5 separate regions of the Homo sapiens genome follow, and all the other regions are linked to region 5. Evidence: promoter capture Hi-C in 16 types of primary human blood cells and fetal thymus (Javierre and others, 2016). All regions are on one chromosome and are shown on one strand. The core of a region is centred on a gene start or on the middle of the fragment in contact, and the rest is flanking DNA. Distances in the headings are between cores, read along the strand shown. Region 1 overlaps ERLIN1 (ER lipid raft associated 1). Region 2 overlaps CHUK (component of inhibitor of nuclear factor kappa B kinase complex). Region 3 holds the start of CHUK (component of inhibitor of nuclear factor kappa B kinase complex). Region 4 holds the start of SCD (stearoyl-CoA desaturase). Region 5 holds the start of SLF2 (SMC5/6 complex localization factor 2).

Evidence for each region. The method cuts DNA at HindIII sites, captures the fragments that hold promoters and counts their contacts. A CHiCAGO score of 5 or more calls a contact.
Region 1: a fragment that was not itself captured here is called in contact with the fragment with the promoter of SLF2 in region 5 in 1 of 17 cell types (M2 macrophages); the score reaches 5.1 in M2 macrophages.
Region 2: a fragment that was not itself captured here is called in contact with the fragment with the promoter of SLF2 in region 5 in 1 of 17 cell types (M2 macrophages); the score reaches 8.5 in M2 macrophages.
Region 3: the fragment with the promoter of CHUK here is called in contact with the fragment with the promoter of SLF2 in region 5 in 6 of 17 cell types (M2 macrophages, M1 macrophages, M0 macrophages and 3 more); the score reaches 14.3 in M2 macrophages.
Region 4: a contact is called between the fragment with the promoter of SCD here and the fragment with the promoter of SLF2 in region 5, in 6 of 17 cell types (M2 macrophages, M1 macrophages, M0 macrophages and 3 more). The highest score is 7.9, in M2 macrophages.

Annotation. Positions count from the first base shown.
Region 1 is chr10:100,179,948-100,182,684 of GRCh38, reverse strand. The region is part of intron 2 of ERLIN1 (ER lipid raft associated 1); the gene reads left to right. Among named protein-coding and RNA genes, the nearest start is that of ERLIN1, 4.7 kb to the left of the region's middle. The HindIII fragment of the contact is 4,344 bases long and covers 1-2,737 here.
Region 2 is chr10:100,200,723-100,203,422 of GRCh38, reverse strand. CHUK (component of inhibitor of nuclear factor kappa B kinase complex) reads left to right here. Exons shown (of 21, transcript NM_001278.5): 14 at 1,274-1,335; 15 at 2,643-2,700. Among named protein-coding and RNA genes, the nearest start is that of ERLIN1, 16 kb to the right of the region's middle. The HindIII fragment of the contact is 3,181 bases long and covers 1-2,700 here.
Region 3 is chr10:100,228,320-100,231,019 of GRCh38, reverse strand. CHUK (component of inhibitor of nuclear factor kappa B kinase complex) reads left to right here and starts at 1,424. Exons shown (of 21, transcript NM_001278.5): 1 at 1,424-1,592. The coding sequence starts at 1,488. CHUK-DT (CHUK divergent transcript) reads right to left here and starts at 1,360. Exons shown (of 4, transcript NR_186419.1): 1 at 1,296-1,360; 2 at 1-5. RefSeq lists silencers at 115-377, 1,447-1,686 and an enhancer at 1,287-1,336. The HindIII fragment of the contact is 6,397 bases long and covers 442-2,700 here.
Region 4 is chr10:100,345,921-100,348,620 of GRCh38, reverse strand. SCD (stearoyl-CoA desaturase) reads right to left here and starts at 1,388. Exons shown (of 6, transcript NM_005063.5): 1 at 1,090-1,388; 2 at 275-557. The coding sequence starts at 1,116. RefSeq lists enhancers at 1,024-1,263, 1,644-1,713, 1,362-1,953 and silencers at 1,494-1,543, 1,744-2,123. The HindIII fragment of the contact is 6,474 bases long and covers 897-2,700 here.
Region 5 is chr10:100,911,667-100,914,366 of GRCh38, reverse strand. It overlaps SLF2 (SMC5/6 complex localization factor 2), which reads right to left and starts at 1,404. Exons shown (of 20, transcript NM_018121.4): 1 at 1,117-1,404. The coding sequence starts at 1,256. RefSeq lists enhancers at 1,255-1,304, 1,325-1,394 and a silencer at 1,615-1,884. The HindIII fragment of the contact is 2,989 bases long and covers 1-2,513 here.

The DNA of each region.
Region 1 (2,737 bases), core at 70-2,569, 730 kb after region 5:
AATATTGTTGTCTTGCATTGTTTGCTAAGTTTTTTTATGTGTTTTCTTTCCAGAAAGGCTCCAGTTTTCTTAAAGGCAGGAGTTGTAACACATTTATATTTCTGGCTTTCTATTTATGGTGGAAGTTGTTAAATTGAGCTGATTTCTCAGGAAGCAATGTGGTGTAATGAACATGGGGACCCAGCGTTACCGCCAGTTGGTGGCATGACTTTGGAAAAATTGCTTAACTGTCATAGACTTCAGTTAGTCTTCTGTGAAAGGAGGAATTTTAATTACATAACCTCATCAACAGCCGAAACAATCTATAATAATGTTAGCAATGGCAGCATTAGACCCTTAAAAATCAAGACTCTAAGGCCCGGCGCAGTGGCTCATGCCTGTAATCCGAGCACTTTGGGAGGCTGAAGCAGGTGGATCACTTGAGCCTAGGAGTTTGAGACCAGCCTGGGCAACATGGGGAAACTCCGTCTCTTAAAAAAAAAAAAAAAAAAAAATCAAGGCTCTAACAAATAGATCTTGTTCAAAACCAGGTAGATCTGTCTCTGCCTTCATGCTTAGTATGTTAAGTCATACTGATGCAAAAATATAAATAAAGGAGATATAGATAATAGTAAACAGATTTTGGAGTTTAATTGTGTATATATATAACAAATATAGTGTGTGTATATATTTAATAATAAACTATCATAAGAGATGTAAATGAAATTAGTACAGAGACTTCAGTGTAAACTAAAATACTTCGCATCTACAAAAAAGTTTTACATGGGCTAGAGCCAGCCAGTGTGACTAAATAGGAATGTTCTTTATGTGTAAAACGGTAACATTCTAGGAAATAATTATATTAATAAAACCATATTTAAAAAGTGTTCTTGGCCGGGCGTGGCGGCTCACGCCTGTAATCCCAGCACTTTGGGAGGCCGAGGCAGGCAGATCACTTGAGGTCAGGAGTTCAAGACCAGCCTGGCCAACCTGGTCAAACGCTGTGTCTACAAAAATACAAAAATTAGCTGGGCGTGGTTGTGCGTGCCTGTAATCCCAGCTATTTGGGAGGCTGAGGCAGGAGAATCGCTTGAACCTGGGAGACCGAGGTTGCAGTGAGCCGAGATCGTACCCTTGCACTCCAGCCTGGGCAACAGAGGAAGACTCCGTCTCAAAAAAAAAAAAAAAAAAAGAGTGTTCTTAAGAGAGTAAGACATAAATTTATTTTTAGGAATTTTTGGAACATATTAGAAGACATAGTCCAGATAAACAAATGGTTTAACAAACTTGGCAATTGAAAGGAATGTATATAAATGTGAAATTCCATATATGATGTAAAAAGAAAAAGCAATGGAGAAATTATATGAAAACCTTCAGCCTTCATAAAGTAACCATAGATTCACTTTTTAAATAAATTTTCTGTCATACTGGGAAAGTAATTTTTAAGAGGACATAAAAGAAATATAAAAGTACATAAAGATAGGGTGTTAAATGGAAGATTTAACATTTGAACCCTTTCCTAGTTCTTCTGAGTTTGAAAATTGGCTAGAGAATATCCTTTTGGTTTAAATAGGAACGTGTATTTAAAGTTGGTGTGGAATATGGAAACTGAATTAATGTTATAAAGGAAATAAATATAATTTGTCTCTTCATCAATCCCCTTAACCTAGAACTGCCACCAATGTTTACTGTCATTCTAATGTCTCAACCTAAGAGTTATTTTTTATTCTTTCCCCTCCTGGAATTTTATATCAACCAAGTATCAGATACCTCCTCTATTATGTCTGGATTGACAGCTTTCATGGCCTTTACTGAATTAATCTAAATAAATTAATTATTTAGCCTCCCAGCTGGTTTTCTTACCTCCCTATAAGATGGAGAATGAGAACTACATCACATGTGAGAAAAGGAATTAAGTAAACATATTTTTGAATGGTTCGTTTTGTGACTGTATATAAGGTGAACTAGAGAGATCCCAAACTCCCCAGCCAGCATTCAGGGCCCTCTGTCTAGTATTACCATGGTCTCTTGTCAGAATTTCATCTTTCATCCAAATTGTCCCTTCTGCTCCAGGCAAGCCTATCTACTTTCGTTCGCCTATACACATGTTGTCTTCAACTGTGTGTATTTCAGTAGGATATTTATTGAGCTTAAGATGTTCCTCTGCCTCATCTGTTCTTATTTCTCCCACTCTAGACCTGGCTTATAAATCCTTCACCTCAGAGAGCTTTTCAAACTACTATTTTTTTCACTTTCTGTAATTTACCACTTAACAGTTCAGTTTATAATTTGTGTTTTTGGTTTTGTTTTGTTTTGTTTTGTACCTGTTGATGGATTGATTGCATTGTAACATTTTGTCTCCTGTGCTGGATTGTGAACTCTTTGGAAACAGGGACTGTGATTCCTTTTTCCTTTGCTTTGTGCTTGATAAGATGCAGTATGTCTAGAATGTACTCATTAGGTGCTGACCTATTTGAGGCCTTAGAGTACAGCAGGAAGTCATTCATTCTGGATCTGAACAAAGGTGTGACAAGGGCAAAGCAATTAAGTACCAGATTGTTGGTTCACCAGGAGGAAGCAGTACTGGTGGTAGCACTTCTATTAAAAAGGAAACTGAATAGGACATGTGAGAGATCACTAGGTATTAAACTAAAATGTTGACCACAGCTTTAGAGAAGAAAGGTTGCTGTTGGATTCAAGGGCAGCTTTGAGTCTTAGAGTACTTGTATGCATAAAATCTCTTTTATCTTCAACATAA
Region 2 (2,700 bases), core at 59-2,558, 710 kb after region 5:
TTTCTATTTGTATATTATTGACATTCTGGTGAGTGATAAAACATTATAATTATTTCATTAAAATATCTTAGACTTGTCAAAGGCTTATTATACAATTGTTAAAGAAAAATGAGGTAGATCTATATGTGCTTTTATTAAAAGATCACCTAAGTCTTTAGTTGACAGTTTTAAATTGTGGGAAAAAATAAAGAGTATACAGATGTTTTCACTTGTGAGGGAGCAGGCTATGTGTCTATGTAACAGATAATCATAGTAAGGTCCCTTGAGGTGGATGGTAGAGGGGTAGAAGAGAGAGTCTTTTCTGTTTATATCCTTTTATAGTATTTAATTTTTAAAAATCATATTCAAGTATTAAATTTCTTTTCTGGCCAGGTGGTGACTCACGCCTGTAATCCCAACACTTTGGGAGGCCAAAGCAGGTGGATCCCTTGAGCTCAGGAATTCAAGACTAACCTGGGCAACATGGGGTAGAACGCCATCTCTACAAAAAATGTAAAAATTAGCCGGGCATGGTGGTGCACACCTCAGCTATTCAGGAGGCTAAGGTGGGAGGATCGCTTGAGCCCTGGAGATAGAGGTTGCGGTGAGCTGAGATCATGCCACTGCACTCCAGCCTGGGTGACAGAGTGAGACTCTACCTCAAAAAAAAATTTTTTTTGTTGTTTTTTCCTTTATCCACCCATCTGCACACTGGTATAAATATATATATTTTTAAGAAAAAAGTCATCTGTATTCATTTCCTAAGGGTTCCATAACAAAATCCCATAAACTGAGTGGCTTAAGCAATGGAAACTTACTGTCTCACAGCCCTGGAGGCTAAAAGTCCAAAATTGAGGTGTTGGCAGGGCCATGTTTTCTCTGAAATCTGTAGAGAAGAATCTTTCCTTGTTTCTCTCTAGCTTCTTATGGTCTGCTAGCCATCATTGGCATTCCTTGGCTTACAGCTGCAGCACCTCAATCTGTCTCCATTGTCACAGAGCATTCTCCCCTGTGTATCTGTATCCTGTGTCTCTTCTAAGTACACTGGTCGTACTGGACTAAGGGCCCAGACCATTCCAGTATGAGTATTAATTTATCTGATTACTTCTGTAATGACCTTATTTCCAAATAGGTCACATTCTGAGGTATTAGGGGTTAGGAATTCCACATATCTTTTGGGGGACCACAATTCAACTCATAACACATCTTTGATGTTGATATGGCAAGGAGGCAGGCAGCCAGTAATTAAAGATATGGCTATTTCTGAGATAACCAATTTAGACTTTTCTTTTAGCTTCAGAAAAAATGCTAAAAGCATGGAAAGAAATGGAAGAAAAGGCCATCCACTATGCTGAGGTAAAATCATTGACGTCATTCTGTATACTTATTAATTCTTGATGTCTCCATTAGAAACTATCTTTGGTTTTGATATATAAAGAGCATTTTTCATGTCATTCCTGAAATTCAGACAAAATTCTAGTAGATGCTTTGTATATAAAGAGGGATGTATCATAGTGATTAAAAACAAGGGCTTTGGGAAAATTACCTAGTGCCTCACTGAGCTTCAGTTTCCTTTATTTATTTATTTTTTGAAACAGGGTCTCACTCTGTTGCCCAGGTTGGAGTGTAGTGGCATGATCAAAGCTCACTGCAGCCTCGACTTCCCAGGCTCAAGCAGTCCTCCCATCTTAGCCTCCTGTGTAGCTGGGACAAGAGGTGCACCACCATGCCTGGCTAACTTTTACATTTTTTGTAGAGACGGGGTCTCACTATGTTGTCCAGGCTTGTATCAAACTCCTGGGCTTAAGCAATCCTCCCACCTCAGCCTCCCATAGAGCTGGGATTATAGGCATGAGCCACCACATCCAGCTAGTTTCCATATTATAGGGACAATTTCTTTTCTAGTAGGGTTATGAAGATTAAATGGGAGTCAGTAATGGTAGTTGTCACTATTATTTTTGTGACTGGTTTAGATAGGATGGCTGCACATCCTGGTTTACCTGGGACTGTCCCAGTTTATACTTAATGTCTTGCCATAATTATCAGTAGTAGTCCCTTTCACTCTCAAAATTATGCCGGTTTGGACAATAAATTATATGGTGTCCCTAGGTATAGCTCATTCTCTAGGTGGCAGATTTTTTCCCCTTATCCTGTACATTTGTCCACGGTCCTAAGTTATTACACTCCTTAATGTCAGTACTTACCCTGAGGATGTGGGTGGGGATACCCATGGTGTCCTGGGGTGGGAAATCCAAGTTCTTTATCTTTTTGTGTCCCTATTCAAGGTAGTGGGGACCAGGGGGCAGTCAAAATCATAGAGCCAAGATACAAGTAATACCAATGGTTTTGGTGGTCCTTTTTCTTTCTTGTTAGTTGATACCTGTTGTAGCTTTTTGCTTCTCCGGAGGTAAAAGCAAATACTAGTAGTTTACTGTTGTCAGGAGAGAAAAGAGAGAAGACTAAGACTAAGTATGTTCTTATGTGAAAGATTAAGTGTCAGAATCTGAAGAATAGAAAGGCTTTAACAAAATCAGTGTTTCGTATTATATTATTTAGTTCTCTAATGAAGCAGCAAGTCATTCTGTATCCTTAAGATCTGAATTTTGTTTCCTATGATGTAGTGGTAAGCCTTTCATTTCCTTTGTATTTTCATCATATTTTAGGTTGGTGTCATTGGATACCTGGAGGATCAGATTATGTCTTTGCATGCTGAAATCATGG
Region 3 (2,700 bases), core at 175-2,674, 680 kb after region 5:
CCCACCTACGGAAATTGAGCACATTAGCACTGGCCATGCTGTACATACAGCAAATGAGAGGGCTTCATACTGTTACAACAATCTGTACCACAATTCTCTGTGCGGTCTGCCCAGCTCTAAATGACATGTCCTCAGAGGCATCATCATCTCCAAGTCCATGGAAACCATGCACTTACAGAAACCAGAACCTCCCATACCACATGTTACTAATGACCTACAACATCGACTTCGTCTGTATCATGCAGTGCTCAACATTCTGGTTGCAGCATCACATTTATCAATAATTTGATTCCATGCTGATTCCTTTACTTGGAGTATTGAGATCCCCCAGGTACAGTGAAGGTATGACCCTCTTAAATGGAAGACCAGGAGTTGTTTCCCCTATGCTATGGCAATCCGCCACCCGGAAGCACTTGCTGCACCAACAGCATTCCCAAAGCTTGCCTCTGCAGCCCTGTAGCACCCATTAGAAACACTTCTCACAATGAACTACTGTGCTGGCAAACCCATAACTGGACTGCCGGACAGCAAGCTCTGTGAGGCATCTAGGAAAAAAGCTCGCGAAATCCCGAGAAACACTCTTCACTCCGGAATAGCGTCACATTCTTGAGTCATTTGGGATGACAGGGGATATCCTGGAGCAGGTGTATTGGGAAGTCAGTGAACAAGAAGGCTAATTCATTAGTGGGCCTGCTAGCGTAGTATTTTAACGATTTCGCAGCCTTTAAATCATTGGTGGTCTTTAGCGTGCCGGATCAGCTGGTGGTGGAGTTGGAGGATAGATGGCAGGGATCTGAAGAAAGGTGAAGTGTAGATAGGAGTAGAGACAATATGAAGTTTAGAAAAGACTAATTGCTGGACGCGGTGGCTCATGTCTATAATCCCAGCACTCTGGGATGCCAAGGTGGGAGGACTACTTGAGACCAGGAGTTCGGGACCAGCCTGGGCAACGTAGCAAGACCATGTCTCTACAAAAAATAAAAAATTAGCCAAGCGAGGTGGTGCGCGCCTGCAATCCCAGCTACTCGGGAGGTGAGAAGATCGCTTAATTCCGGGAGGTCGAGGCTGCAGTGAGCCGTGATCGTGCCATTGCACTCCAGCCTGGGCAACGGAGCGAGACCCCATCTTAATTAAAAAGAAAAAAATACAGGAGAGACTGGGCTGCTTTGAAAAGTGGATTTGACGGGAATGTGGGGTTTGGAGAGATCTTATGTTTTCCAAGACTAGAAAAACATTGTGGTTCCGTTCAGCCCTCCCGGAAAATACGTAGGGGACTTAAAGAGCGGACCGAGTACCTGTTTGTTTCCCCATCCCTTAGCCGGCAGGGCTCTGGCAGCGCCCTGGGAGAACTTAGGGAAGGGCCTTCTCGCAGCGGTTACCGGAAGTGACGCATTCATTCTCGCGAGAACAAAGACGCGCGAGCATCGGCGGCCCGGAACCGGCCTTGGAACAACTGTGGAACCTGAGGCCGCTTGCCCTCCCGCCCCATGGAGCGGCCCCCGGGGCTGCGGCCGGGCGCGGGCGGGCCCTGGGAGATGCGGGAGCGGCTGGGCACCGGCGGCTTCGGGAACGTCTGTCTGTACCAGCATCGGGTGAGGCGGGGCGTGAGAGGGAGCGGCGGTGGGTTGGAGCGGCGGTGGGTTTGAGCGTCTGTGGAACACAGGGCTGACAGTGTGGGATAGATGGTTGGTGGGACCTTGGGCAGTATTTGGGGGCCAGTGGGCTTGTGTGTGTGTATTAGAGAGAAAGATACTATGCCTGTGTGTCCAAAGTTGTATTTGAGGTACTGGGCATAGATAGAGCTGTTGCGGGGAACTTGGGTATGACTGTCAGGCTGTGACCAGGTGTTTAGTGAGTGTGACAGTGCGTGTGTGTCTCTGTGAATGTGGAGTGTCAGGGTGTGTGAGGCAGATGCACGTCACAGTGTGTATGTAGGAGCACGAATGTGTGAGAAGAGGGCTGAAGGGGACTGCCTTTGGGAATGTGTGCGTCCGTGTGTGTGTGTGTGTGTGTGTGTGTGTGTGTGCGCGCGCGCGCGCGCGCTTGGAGGCCATATGATATCAGTGGGGACTGGAGTAGACAAGGAAGGCTTCATGATGGGTCCAGAGTTAAGCCTTTGGAAGCATGGATGGGCTTTGGAATTGGGGATGTATTCCAGGTCGGGACAGTATGAGGGTGAGTTGGTGCAGAGCATGGCTTCAAACGAAAGGCTATATTAGTAGATGGAGATGGGGGGCGCTCTAGTAGGTGGAGGACAGTTAACATCAGACTCAAGAATTTTACTTTGATTTAATAGAGAATGTTTAACCATTGTAGTAGCAGTTAAAAAATCATATTTGGGTCTTGTTTGTTTGTTTTTGTTTTTGAGACGGAGTCTCACTCTGTCGCCCAGGCTGGAATGCAGGGCGCGATCTCGGCTCACTGCAGCCTCCTCCTCCCGAGTTCAAGCGATTCTCCTGCCACAGCCTCCTGAGTAGCTGGGATTACAGGCGCCCGCCACCGTGCCTGGCTAATTTTTTTGTATTTTTAGTAGAGACGGGGTTTCACCATGTTGGCCAGGCTGGTCTCGAACTCCTGACCTCAGGCGATCCACCTGTCTCAGGCTCCCAAAGTGCAGAGATTATAGGCGTGAGCCACGGCACCAGGCCTGGGACATGTATTTTTTGATATACCGATAAAAGCTGTGAACCCTTTCCCCAG
Region 4 (2,700 bases), core at 139-2,638, 570 kb after region 5:
TCTTTCAGGGAAAGCTGACTCTCCAGCACAGCACACTTCAAAGCCCACAAGCACAAGGTTCCAAAGCTCTCAACCCCCAGCATTGACAGTCCTGCATCTCAGTACCCCCAGGTTCTTCCCAGCCCACTAGGCCTGAAGCAACCAAAGAGAAATGCCTGAGAAAAACCCCAACCGGGAGGCTGGGAGGGGCTGGTGTCCTCTGTAAGATCCTACCTTATTAAAAGAGCAGTGAGTACCTGGAGGACTAGGTCAGGAGGACAGGGAGGCTGCTTACCCCAAAGCCAGGTGTAGAACTTGCAGGTAGGAATCAAAGTGATCCCATACAGGGCTCCCAAGTGTAGCAGAGACATAAGGATGATGTTTCTCCAGACATATTCAACCTTGGGGCTTGGGCCTTCCTTATCCTTGTAGGTGGGGTCATATATATCATCTTTTATATCAGGGCGAATGTCGTCTTCCAAGTAGAGGGGCATCGTCTCCAACTTATCTCCTCCATTCTGCAGGACCCTGGAGGGAGGCGCTGTAATGGTGGTGGTGGTGGTATAGGAGCTAGAGATCTGGAAGGGGGAGGAAGAGGAGAGTCAGGAGAAGAGACACGTGGAGGCAGCTGGGGCCACTCCGCTCTCTAATCACGCTGGGGGAAGGGTGGACAGTACGGACCCTTCCGCAGCGCCGTAGTTCACTGAGGGTAGGGTGTATCCGAGACGCAACGGAGAAAAGTTCCCTGAAACTGTACAGATACATTAGGGGCGGAGGGCGAGGGGGACGAGGGGCGCGAAACCTATCGGGAGGCGGCAGTAGGAAGGAGAAGTAAAGCACTCACATCCCCACGAAGACAAAGGAAAACCCGCATAATTCATAAAAGCACCAGCACGACCGGATTTTTCTTTAAAGCTTAAGAAACTAAAGTTGGAGACTCAAGTCCCCAAATTACAATCCACATTCCCAACTCACGGAAGGCAGCACAACTCGAAAAAGATGACCAAGTCCTCCGCGGAGCTCTCCCCTCTCTTCTGCCACCAACCCGTCCCCTGGAAGCCCAGCCCGCGCCTGCGACCCGGCGGTACGGGGCCAGGCTGGGAAACTCACATCGTCCTGCAGCAAGTGGGCCGGCATCTTGGCTCTCGGATGCCGGGATCACTTTCCAGGGGGCTGAGGCTCCGGAGCGGAGTTCGGGGTCGCCGGAGGACTGCGGTTTCGAAGCCCGCCGGTACGCGCTGAGCCGCGGCGCCTTGCACGCTAGCTGGTTGTCGGCGCTAGCCGCGGTGCGTGGAGGTCCCCGAGCCGGGAATTTAAAGGCTAGAGCTGGCAACGGGTGACCGTGTCCGGTATTTCCTCAGCCCCCTTTTATCCGCTGCCAAGCAGGGGCAAAGTGCGAGGAGTTGACTGGCGCGGGCGGTCCCGCGTGGAGGTAAGGGCGGGAGGGGGAGGAGACAGAGGCCGAGGCTCGCGGCGACCGCAGCAGGGCGCCGGGGATGCTGCCGACACCGACACCACACCACCCGGCCTCTGCCCCTGCCCCTGCCTCTGGGGAAATGCTAATGAGGCTTCTGTAAACTCCGGCTCGTCATTGGCCGAAGGGAATTTGGTGCCACCTCGTCCTGCCGTTGCCATTGGCTCGGCGCAATCTGCTGTTCCCTCTGCCGCCAGCTCCTCGCTCCCCCTCCCCTCTGTTTCTCCTTCTCAGCTTCTCTTCCACCCGCCGCTGGGCCTCTGCCCGGCATCCCGCGTCGGGAGCTTTCTCTCTGGAAGGGGCTGGGGACCCGGTTTGGGGCTGGGGCGCGGAGCCTAGCCCAGGACCGGCCCTCGGGCACACGGAGAACGGGTGGGTGGGCACTGGGGAAGTTTCTCAGGAAACAGTGGTGAACCCTCGGGGGGCGCCCACCACTAACATCTCCGTCCCGTCTTCCGTCCCCCCAGGCGCGTGGCAGGGAGACGTGGCAGCCACCCCAGGATCTGGAGCTTGGGGGACGCGGGAAGCCCCGCCTCCCTCCCGGGCGAGCGCGGGGGACTCGGTACGCCTGCGAACAATGGCTCTGCCCCGCCCACCAGCCACGCGCTGCTCACCCGGGACCGCACCGGACTCCGGCCGCACACACAGGCTGGCTGGTGTGTGTGTGCCTGCGCGCACGCATCCTGTTCAGGACCCGGGCGGGCAGTCCCATCCCCAAGCCCGCGCCTCCAGGATGCGTGCGGGATGTTTTGGAGATTCTTCAGACTGGCAGGTTGTAATTTTGGAATCTTCTTTGTGGAAACCGTCAGGAAACACTGACATGTGTTTTCACCCAGCAGCAGGCGAAAGGGCTTGGATGTGGAATAAGAATAGCTGGCAGGTATTGAATTATTACTGCAAGCCAATTCACAAGAATCGTTTTCTGTAAGCCTCTCTGTGACCCTGGGAGGTGGGTACCCCATTATTCCATTTTAAAAGTGAGGAAAGAGATATGGAGAGATGGAATAACTTGCCCATGGTCACAGCAACCAGTAAGTGATGGAGCTGGCAGTTGAGCCCAGAAACACCATATGAGAGCCCAAGCTCTTAATCCCTGCTCAGGACCATATTGCCCTCGGTCCCTGAGATGCTCTGACCCTACTGATCTGTCCCTGTGCCCCCATCTTTTCCGTGTCTGTAGGAGCCTTACCATGAGAGCTCAGAACCAGGCAGGCTATGCATTCACCCGGTGTCCTTCCATGCCCATG
Region 5 (2,700 bases), core at 155-2,654:
TTCATATGCACACAAAATGTCCACTGCTTATTTAACAACTGGCTTAAAAAAAAACACACACACACACACAATTATAACAGTTTCACAAACCCTTATCTGAACCTTCTGGGGCCAAATGTGTTTTAGAATTCTGAATTTATCAGATTTTAGGAAGGGGATAACTTGGATGTATTATGGAAAGTCCCCAGTGGGGTCTGGTGCTGCAACCTGTAATCAAATCCACTGACATTTCTCCAGCAAAACATGAATATTCACACTTAATGGGATAAAGACCACAAACAGCCTTACATTAGTTTTAGTCAGATCTGGCTGCCCAGTAAGATGTGGTGCCAAACTTACTGAAAACGTTTTGGTTTTCATAGCTTTCTGGCTTTCAGAGTTAAGATAAGGGATTGTGGGCCTGTACCACAGTATTAGTAACATGAATATTGTTAAAACTTAATACAATTTAACTTAAAATAAAAGACAGTACCAAGTTCGTAGGGAATTTAAACATGTTTTATTGTCAGAGGATGTCATTAGATGAAACTCCCCATCTCATTACATAGCTCCCACAAAATCTTTACAAAAAAATTAGCCTCTTGGAGAGGCGTGAAGTTACTGAAAGAGAAAACACGTCACATTCCAAATCTGCAAGTTCTTTTAAGTATGAACTAGCGTGCACGCTGGACTACAAAGTAATTCGTGGAAGGGATTCCCTCATCACAGGTTACATAATTTCACCCACAACATAGAAAAGGTTTATATTACTAAACCACTAGGATCAGTAGAACTGACAACGTACAGAAAACGATCTAAATATGCATTAAGCAGTTAGGGTCCCGGGTCAAACTCTTGCAAAGGAAAAAAATCACTTTCTTTCTACCTAAGGCGGGTTCTCCGTAGCTGTCCAGGCTGGTGGTCACTAGACCAAGAGCAGCTGCCCAACTACAGAGAAGCAAACTCCAACTCCCAGTAGCCCCTGCGCGGAGGCGGGGCGGGGATTTGCCAGGCCCCGAAATGCCAACGCCTGAGCTCGCGGAGGATGGCGGGAACTGGAAGAGCGGCGGTCTGCAGCCCTCCCCTCATACCCTTGCCCCCGCGACCCGGCCCCTTCTCAAGCCCTCTGCACGGTACCTGTCCCCAGGACTCTCTGTTCTCTTTCCCGCTGCAGCATGGGCGGTACTACCGGGTCTCAGATGGCAGCGCGGGGGCGACGACCCCGGGGCTGGGGATGAGGGGAAACCTGGCCTAGCGGGCATGCAGCGCCTTGTCATGTCGGCGCCGCTGGCGACGGCGGCATGAGCCGTGGCTGGAGAAGTTGGGTGCGTGGTTGCCGTCTTGCTGCTGGGACTCCGGGAGGCTGTCGGAGCAGAGGTGGGCGGCACCCCCTTCTCTCTTCATGGCGGTTCTCTCTTCGGAAGTGACTCCGGCGTGAGCGGGAAGGAACCTGGGGACCAGTAAGGGGCGGGTCTTACTTCATGAATCACGTCTTGATTGGCTGGCACGGTGGTCATTTCGGTGGTGGCGCAATAGGAAGCCGCAGCCTCTCTGGAGAAGGCGGGGCTTGGGGACGGGGGAGGAAGAAACCTCCCCCTCCCACCCCGTCACATGCACTGAGGGCGCGCGCCTCTGGTCCCGGCCGCCTCGGCCTTGGCCGGCGCGCGGGGGCGGAAAGGCGCGGGCAGCAGCTGGCGGACAGCTGACGACACCCGCCTGGTTGAAGGCGAGGGGTGAGGGTTTGCTGAAGCAAACCGGAGCCCGGCAGCTGCCTTCGTTGAGGATGGCCAACACTTGGGCTTCCTGTGTCACACAATTGTGCCTCAGAAATCCGCAGCTGTTCATTACATCGTCTCTTTAACAGCTTAGGCCAAAGTGCCATAATACTGTCACAATTTGCTGAGGGATCTGCACAGCGCGATCCGAAGACTTGTCCATTCTACGACGGTTCTTGTTGAGTGTCAGCGGTAGATTATTTTTTTGTCTTTAAGAAGAAGAAAAAACCCCCAAAAAACTCCATTGGAATAAAGACAGTTGTTAATCCACAAAAGCATTTTGTTTCTCATGAGTTACCATGAAGTCTCTGCAGCCGACTTCCTTGGAGATTTTTTAAAGGAACACAAGGTCAGCTTTCAGTTTTCCATGTTAAGCGTGGGCAGCATAGATAAGTAAAAGCTGCCTGCAATCTCCAACCCTCCTTTGTAAAGGGCTTGTGCTCTGGAGGCTGTTAGCCATGGTTTTCCTTATAAACCGAGAGACTGGTCAGTATCTCTGAACCTCAGCCTCCACATCTGTAAAACGGGCATTTTACTCACTTTTCTGGGTAATTGTAAACCATAAAAGGATAAAACAGTGTACACTGCACAGTTCAGATTCTCTCATGTAACAGGTACAGAGCAAATTATAGTTCCCTTTCTTCCCCAGATAGATTCCTACAGCGAATTTTACTTCTTTACAAAATCTTCCAGAGACAGGTCAAATACTGTTGCAATAACTGTTAACAACCAAAATATCAATTTCAAGATGTCCAAGCTTTAATTGACAGAGTTATTTAATCAGTTGGATGGAAAAAAATCTTAAATGATATAAAATAATTTGGACGGGTCTTTCAAGTTTATTGTATAGAAATTGAACTATTGGCCTGATACAGTTGCTCACATCTATAATCCCAGCAGTTTGGGAGGCCAAGGCAGGTGGATAGCTTGAGCCCGGGAGTTGGAG